Linked DNA regions of Homo sapiens: regions 1 and 3 are each linked to region 2. Evidence: promoter capture Hi-C in 16 types of primary human blood cells and fetal thymus (Javierre and others, 2016). All regions are on one chromosome and are shown on one strand. The core of a region is centred on a gene start or on the middle of the fragment in contact, and the rest is flanking DNA. Distances in the headings are between cores, read along the strand shown. Region 1 overlaps ZNF777 (zinc finger protein 777). Region 2 holds the start of ZNF282 (zinc finger protein 282). Region 3 has its middle 12 kb from the start of TRC-GCA11-1.

Region 1 (2,808 bases), core at 76-2,575, 250 kb before region 2:
ATAGATGTGGTGAGCTGAATCTGAAATTGGTACTGGGGAAAACTGAGAAGAAACCCAATTTGCACCCCCACACCTGCTTGGGGCTCAAGAGTTAATAGTACCAGAGACTCTAGGGATCCCTGGAAATAGGAATGAAGTGAGGCTAAACACAGACAGCTGGCTGAACATCTTTTAAAGAGACCGCTTAAAGCTCCCCTCAGCTCCCATTGCCTCCCTCAGTCCCTACTGCAGGCATCTGCCTTTCCCTAGCCCTGATATGTGACAGGCTTATTCTCTGGGGAGGGTGCAAAGGAGGCTCTCTGGACATGGGCACCAGGCACAGTTGAGGGTGGGGCACCATATTGAAAACGGGAAGAAGGAGACTTGACGTGCAGATGTTGAGACCTCCAGCCTTCTTCCCTAACTCGACTCCCGAAATGTTGCCAACACCCAGAATTAAACCCACTGGGCAGGATATTTGAAGAGGCTTATCTGGAGACTTTTGGGACCAGCCCAAGAGGTTTCTGGGTAAAATGACTTGGCCAAAGCACCCTATGGGCCAAACAGAGTCCCATAGTTAGCAGGCCTCACCCAAATGCACTGAGCTCCCTGTTCTCTTGAGTGTCCCCTTTTAAGTCTCCGGGGACAACCAAGAATGAGAAGACATTTGGGAAAACTCTGTGGTGTACAGAGACAAGTAAAGAAATCAGAAAAAATACATTTAGAGGAACAGAGACCATGCAGAGAGGGAAAAATGTATATATGAATACTCACATGTAAAATCCTTAAATCAAATAAGTGAATGCATTCATGACACAAAAGTGTAATGCTTGTTTTTTAAAAAAGGAATAGAAAGGAACTCTTGGAAATAAAAAATGTAATAGTACAAATTAGAGACTCAGGAGCAGTGTTGGAGGATAAGCACACATCCCAGAAAATAAAGCTAAAAGAAAAGAAAATAGGGAAAAAAATAAAAATAAAGGATGGAAGGGAATAGGGAAAGAATAAGAAAACTGAAGGATGGAAGTCCAACATCCAGATAATAGGAATATCCAGAAAAAGAGTAGCAGAAACAGGTGGGAATTATCAACAAAATAATTCAAGAAAAGGTCCCGCCAATTAAAGCCGTAATTTTCTAGATTGAAAGAGCCAGCTGCCCAGAGCACTGGAAGAAAATAGACCTACACTTTCAGCACGGAATTTCAGAGCAACTGAGAACAAAGGAAATCCTACGAGCTTCCAGGGAAGAGAAACAGAGTCATGCGAAGAAATGAGAATTAGAATGGCCTCAGACATTTGTAACCACATTGGGAGCTAGAAGACAGTAGAGTAGTGCCTTTCAAATTCCAAAGGAAAATATTTTCCAACTTATAATTCAATGTCTAGCCAGACTATTTCGATTAAATATGAGTGAAACTGAGTCATTTTGAGATATTCAAGTCTCCACAAATCCTTTATCAAACTGGGGCAGGCGCTTTGCCAAAATGAGGAAGTAAACCAAGAAGGAGGCATTACAAACCCCAACTTGAGAGAGAGGTGGAGGCACTCCAGGCACACGGCCCAGGGGCATTCCGAGAGGTCAGCTGTGCACCTAGAGGCAGCCAGTCGAGTGGGGCACCTCCGCAGGTCCCAGAAATTTGTCTTCAAGTAGATGAAATGGATAAATACCCAATATATTTGAATGTTTGGAAAGGAGAGTTACACAGCAAGGTAAGGTTGGGGGAGTTTGGGGCTAAGTTCATGATAATTAGTCGTAAGCTGGGCAAAAGAAATAAGTGTCAGATCTAGGGAAAGCAAGAAGGTTTACAGGCGTAGGAGGCACTCACTGAATACTACAGAGTTTAGTTATAAATAACATTGATATAATCTAGCGAGGTAAACACCCAGTATTGATCCAACTAAAATTACAACAAAACTGTATTGGCAGGATCAGTTCGGAGGAGATGGTTCTGACCGTCATCCCTTGGAAGTCAATGGATGATGCTTAAAATTGAAAACTCAAGGAGTAGCAATATAAGTGTGTTACTTAGAGTTATGGAGGTAAATGACCAAAGAGTCAGCTGGAATCATTGAAGTGATTGCTTCGGGGAGCAGGAAATGGGGGCAGAGGAGTGGAAAAGAACTTTTTAAAAAATAAGTTTTGGGCCGGGTGTGGTGGCTCGCGCCTCTAATCCCAACAGTTTGGGAGGCCGAGGCAGGTGGATCACTTGAGGTCAGGAGTTTGAGATTAGCCTGGGCAACATGGTAAAACCCCATCTCTACTAAAAGTACACAAAATATGTATATATAGCTGGGTGTGGTGGCCCATGCCTGTAATCCCGGCTACTCAGGAGGCTAAGGCAGGAGAATCACTTGAATCCAAGGGGTGGAAGATGCAGCCCCGTCTCAAAAAAAAGAAGTTTTGAAGAACTGTTCAACTATGTTCCACTAGCCTATGTGCATGTATAACTTTAAAAAAAATTTTTTTTAATTAAAAAAACCTAACAGTATAGCCATGCGAAGATTGGAAAGTCAGTGTCAACCAATATTTATTTACTTTGAGCTGGTAGAGAGAGTTAATGTGGCAATACTGGTTTTTAATTTCACAAAGAAAAAGTACAGAGAGAGTGAAAGTCCCCCATAGTTTTCTCTCAAGAGTCAGCAGTTTATTCATTCCAATTTTATGTGCATGTGATTACATACACATGGCCTTAATTATATAAGTAATACATATACACATTATCATTGTAAAAAAATCAGACAATATAGAAGTATTGGCAAGTTTCTTTTTTCAATACTATATCATTGACATTTTTACGTCAGAATATATAAATTTGTCGTGTTCTTTTT
Region 2 (2,700 bases), core at 122-2,621:
ACCAGCCCCACTCTCTGACTCAAGAGCAGCCCTGCTCCGGGGCAGACCTGCTCCGGGACACAGCAGAGTGGAGAGCAGGGCCCTAGGATCGCCAGGCCCTGTAATACCAGTAAGAGGTGCTGGTGTTTCCATCAAAAGCACCCATTCCTCCATCACAGAGGCTCCACTCCGCCCTAGCCCACAGAAGGGGACAGAGTCCACAGTAGAAGTTAAGAAAGTCCCGGGGCCCAGTTTAGTTTTCTCGGGTTTGAAGCCCTAACCCTGAAAATGATCAAACACAACACAGCAGCCCCTGGCTCCCTCGTTAGCACCTGGCTGAGAGCCGCGTGGTGAGCAGAGGGGCCCCTGAGCAGCCCAGCCCCAGGGTGGGCCCAGAGAGTCTTCCCTGGGCAAGCTTTCAGGCCTCTCTGAGGATCCACCTCCCCTGGTTTTATACCCAATTCTGGAGCACCGGTTCTGCCCACGGAGATCATCGATGGAGCCTGAAGAAATGCCTGGTGCTACTCTCACCCGTCAGAGACCCTGAGCTCTGGGACCAGGCAAGGGCTCAGGAGTCTTAAAAGCTGCCCAGGCCATTCCAACATGCGGCCAAGTTTGTCAACCGCAGGAAAGACCCCGAAGTCATCTCTCCATGGCCCCCTCCCTGGATCACACCCGGTGCAGGGGGAGAGTGAATTACTCATTACACTTGGTGAAAGGTGGTAATCAAACATTTAAAAAATATCCCCGTCAAATTGGCCACCGTGTAAACACGAACGAGGCATTCACTTCTGCGGCCGGGCGGAAGCACTGCCCGCGAAGCTCTCCGCCGGCCGGGCGCAAAGGGAGCCCCAAGCCGGGGCTCAGCCACAGGGTCAGAGCTCTGCCAGGTCCCGGAAAGGACGGTCCCGGCCCCCGCCCCGCGGGGCCTCCGCACTTGGGCCCGGCGACCGCTGCTCCGCGCCGCGCGGGCCAGGCCTGCCCTTCCGGGCCTGCGTCGGGCCCGCTCCGTCCTGCCCGCCGCGCAGCCCGGCCGTGCCCCGCCCGCCTCGGGCCTCGCCTGGGCGCGGAAGCTGGGAGGGCGCCGCAAGGCTACCGGAGGACGGCGCGGCCCGGTCCCGCGGCCCAGCCCGCGCCCCGCCCCCACGGCAGCGCGGCCATGGCGCCGGCGGGGTTCTCCCACCTGCATGGGCGGCATTCCCTCGGCCATTTCCCCGCGCAGCGCCGGCTCCTGGTGGCAGACCTCCTCCGGGGGCAGAGCCTGGGCCCAGCTCCAGCTCCCGCTGTCCAGCCCCAGGCCCTGGATGCCCAGCTGCTGAGGCTGCGGCCGTGTTGACACAAACTGCATCCTGGGAGTGCTGTTCCCCGCTCGGGTCGGCCAGGGAGAAGAAGAACGTTTTCCAGGCGCCTTCCCCCTCTCCGGGGCCGGACAGCTCCATCTACAGCCCGTAGGAGCAAACAGTCCCCTTCGGCGGCGCTCCCCGCCCCTTGGCAGCCCGCGCGCCAGCCAATGGCCTCGGAGCTCCTGCCCGCCTGCGGGGACCTACCGGGGCCACTCCCGGACTGGGGTCGCCACCGCCCCAAAACTGAGAGGCGGCGGCCTCGCCCAGGGGTCAGGCCCCCTCAATCTGGGATGGCCGACTTTAAAGGCCCAAACTATGCGAGGACCTGGACTGTGGGCTTGATTACTGTTAATTCTGCAAATGTATTGGGCATCCCGGGAGAAAATAGTGCCTGACCCTTGTGAAAATTTTGCAGGAGTAATTCTGTCTTCAGACACTTTCTTCTGGCCTTCTGCCTTCCCTCACTCCTTTGCAGACTTTACCTCCCACTCCCCTTCTTCCCAATCCAGATTTACCTGGACCCATCCCAGAGCTTTTGCACTGTTATGGATGATAGAGAAGTGATTCATGTTAAGGTGTCAAAAGAGGGCTGAGCTCTTTCTCCCAGGTAAGGTGCAGTGCATTTTAACAGTGGCCTCTTCAAACACCTTGAAATTGGGTTGGGCGTGGTGCCTCACACCTGTAATCTCAGCACTCTGAGAGGCTGAAGCAGGAGAACGACTTGAGCCCAGGAGTTCGAGACCAGACTGAGCAACATATTGACACCCCATCCCTATAAAAAATAAAAATTAGCCGAGCGCGGTGGCTCACATCTGTAATCCCAGCACATTGGGAGGCTGAGGCAGGCGGATCACCTGAGGTCAGGAGTTCGAGACCAGCCTGGCCAACATGGTGAAACCCCGTCTCTACTAAAAATACAAAAAGATTAGCCGGGCGTGGTGGCGTGGGCCTATAATCCTAGCTACTCGGGAGGCTGAGGCAGGAGAATCGCTTCAACCTCCGAAGCGGAGGTTGCAGTGAGCCAAGATCGCGCCAGTGCGCTCCAGCCTGGGCAACAGAGCGAGACTCCATCTCAAAAAATAATAATAAGGCCGGGCGCCGTGGCTCACGCCTGTAATCCCAGCACTTTGGGAGGCCAAGACGGGCGGATCACGAGGTCAGGAGATCGAGACCATCCTGGCTAACACGGTGAAACCCCGTCTCTACTAAAAATACAAAAAAATTAGCCGGGTGTGGTGGCGGCGCCTGTAGTCCCAGCTACTCGGGAGGCTGAGGCAGGAGAATGGCGTGAACCCGGGAGGCGGAGCTTGCAGTGAGCCGAGATCGCGCCACTGCACTCTAGCCTGGGCAACAGAGCAAGACTCCGTCTCAAAAAAAA
Region 3 (2,947 bases), core at 182-2,681, 230 kb before region 2:
ACAAGTTAATTAACAGAACATCAATTTCCTCATCTGTCAAATAGGGATAATAAAGTTCCCATTGTTCTGAGGCTTAAATCACAATAGATACATAGCAAAGACACTGGCAGATACTAAGGTCTCAATAAGAGATTACTAATTTCAAACAGAAGTTCAAGTTGGTAGTGGGCTAGTGTTATATCCTAAAAGAATGAATCTTTGAGAAGGAAATTTCAGTAGGCAAATGTAGATTATTTTGGTGTGAGAAAGTACAAATTAAACCACAACTATATCATGGTCCTTATCTAGGAGTGGACAGGGTTTCAGTTCACCCCTTGGCCACACTCCAGAGTTTGCAGGAGGTAGTACCCCACCTCGCTGAGTTTTCTGGTCCTCTTTCACAGTGCTTTTCTTGGGTGCCCTTAATTTAATTAGACTTGTGAACTCCTAAGTTGCCTGTTGCTGTTGGCCCCATAAAGCTGTGTAGCAGAAGGAATAACTACCATTTATTGAGAGCTTCTTACTTTGGAAGACTTTACATACATCCCTTCATAACTCTGATGTATGTTTCATTACACCCATTTTATAGGTGGAAAGCTCCAGGCTCAGGGAGGTTAAGTAGGCCCAAAGTCACACAGCAACCAAATAGTAGAGCCAGGATTTGAACTCAGTTCTTTGACTCCAAAGCCCATGTGCTTGGCCAAAAAGTTGTTTTCCTGGGGCCAGTATCGTTGTTGAAAAAAGAAAAGCCAGCACCTCTTTTAAATTATTCCATTTTGCCTCCGGATTTTTTGACTGAAGATAAAATTGGGGGAAACAAAATATATTAAACAGAACATGCTCTGTGCATTTGCCAAAATGATGAACACAGTAAGAGGATAAAAAAGAATGTTTGAGGCAGGAAAAAACCCTTAGCGCTGAGCCCTAGCATTTTATAGCTGAGAAATGAAGAGGAGAGGAGTTGGGTCCTCCAAGGTCACAGGTGGGACAGGCAGGGCTGGTGCCGAGGGGATGCTCACTGTCTTACAGCCCTGCACCCCCCCCCCAGTATTTATTAATCACCACTTGTGTGCAAAGAATTGTGCTGGGCTCTGTGGAGAAACACAAGAGGATTAGGAATCCCTGGCTGCCTAGACAGCACTTAGCATCTGGTGGAGACTGGCAGCCTGGTTAAGCCTCTGGGGATCTGGAAAGCTGGGACCATCAGAGAGGCCTTTAGGCGGCTGTCTCTGATAAAGGACCGCATCCCCAGCTTTTCTTCATTCCTCTTCAGTGGATGTAGCCTGAACCAGCCAGGTGTCTGTGGGAGACCTTTCCTGAAGCACTGTGGTGGCAGCTCCTCAGATTAAGGGATCAGGGACAGAGGCCCTCCAGGCCCTACTGTTGCCAGGGCAACATTGAGTCAGGCCAGGGCCTCTCCTCCAGCGCTCTGGAAAGCATTACTGCTGCTGAAGCCTCTTGTTGCTTCCCAGTCATACTGGCAACTTCTAGATGACAATTTGTAAAAAAAAAAAAAAAAAAAAATCAACTTTGCATCTACCATTTCTAGTTGGTTTCCTTGAAATGAGGAATTTTAGTTAAAATATAGACTTTAGCCCTTTTATTTCTGTTTTCTACAAAGGACAGCTCCAGGTTAAATGATTTCTCTAAAAAAAAGAAAGAAAAGGAAGGTGAAAGGAAGGAAAAAAGGGGAAAAGACCAGGATAGAAAGAAAGAAAAGAAAACATTAAACATAGTACTATTGATCGCAACCTTACATGAAAAGTTCTGTTCAGAAGTCAGAACTAGCCATAAGTTTATTAAGGATAATAACTAAAATCACTACAATTCATTGAGTTTTACCATGTTGCAGTCACTGTGCCAGATCATAAACGCTTTCCTTTCATTTTATCTTGCAACAACCTGTGAAATTGGTATCTGTGTCCCCTTGAACAGATGAAGTTCAGAGAGGTTCAGCCATCAGCAGCCAAGGTCACACGGCCAGAATTTAAACCTAAGTGGGTGGGAACCCCAGCTGTGTGCTATTAACCACTGTTACATACTGCCTCCCAATTTCAACATGGATCCTTAATAAAAAGGGCAAAACATGACTATTTCTCTTTGATTTGCAGCTCTCACTGTCTATGGGCACAGCATGTGAGTCTGGACCTGCCTGAAAGCACAGTTCCCTGGCTGCCTGGCCAGCCAAGCCCAGGCGACATTGGGAGACGTCCTGAGGTTCACCTGACCAGGGTAGAATAGGTGTTCCTGGGCACACTGGTGGTTAGAACACCAATCCAGCCCCCGTTTTAGACTGAGTCCTCTATACCTTAGGGACTTTGGGGAGAGCACTGTTATGGCAAGAGGCCACCTTTCTCTGTTTATTTCTGACGTTGGGACCTAAGAAGCCATTTGTTTATCAGTCAGAGGAGTAGTTGCATGAAGGAGATTATTATAAGGAAGAAATACCTGCTCCCTAATAACACAAAATACACCCTTGACTCTAATCCTGCCGGCTCAGTGCTACCTCTAAGTTCTCACCATTCCCTCCCCGCCACTACCGCATGAATGAAACTCACTGCTTCTCTTTGTAAAATAATATCTCAAAATAACTCAAGTATTATAAGACAGGAGCATCACTGCTGTCTATTAATTCAGGTAATGGAAAGTTGAATTTTAATGACAAAATGTATCAGTGAAAATGTCTATCCCTGCTGGTAATTTTATTTAAAGAATGATTATCAGGACAACAGACTGTTTCTTCTTAAAATCAGTATAGTCTAATAAGTATAAAATCTTTTTAAAAATTAAATGCAATCAGCTCTTCATTTACCTGATACACAAATAATCAAATTATGCCCTCAAAGGATTGAAATAGCTTGGATTTAAGCTAAACTCAATTAAGAAAAGTAAACAAGTATGAAAGGTGAAACTTGCCATTTTTCCACAGAAGGTACCAGCCAAGAACTACATGGTCCCATGATCAAAT

The links. Contacts are between HindIII fragments. The CHiCAGO score rates a contact against its expected background, and 5 or more counts as called.
Region 1: a contact is called between a fragment that was not itself captured here and the fragment with the promoter of ZNF282 in region 2, in 1 of 17 cell types (naive CD8 T cells). The highest score is 5.5, in naive CD8 T cells.
Region 3: a contact is called between a fragment that was not itself captured here and the fragment with the promoter of ZNF282 in region 2, in 1 of 17 cell types (non-activated CD4 T cells). The highest score is 5.7, in non-activated CD4 T cells.

What each region holds. Positions count from the first base shown.
Region 1 is chr7:149,443,207-149,446,014 of GRCh38, reverse strand. All of the region lies in intron 4 of ZNF777 (zinc finger protein 777), which reads left to right. Among named protein-coding and RNA genes, the nearest start is that of ZNF777, 16 kb to the left of the region's middle. The HindIII fragment of the contact is 3,968 bases long and covers 1-2,808 here.
Region 2 is chr7:149,194,217-149,196,916 of GRCh38, reverse strand. ZNF282 (zinc finger protein 282) reads right to left here and starts at 1,371. Exons shown (of 8, transcript NM_003575.4): 1 at 1,163-1,371. The coding sequence starts at 1,327. RefSeq lists an enhancer at 304-353 and silencers at 794-1,153, 1,274-1,595, 1,414-1,703. The HindIII fragment of the contact is 5,667 bases long and covers 397-2,700 here.
Region 3 is chr7:149,425,684-149,428,630 of GRCh38, reverse strand. No RefSeq gene overlaps it. Among named protein-coding and RNA genes, the nearest start is that of TRC-GCA11-1, 12 kb to the right of the region's middle. The HindIII fragment of the contact is 5,723 bases long and covers 1-2,947 here.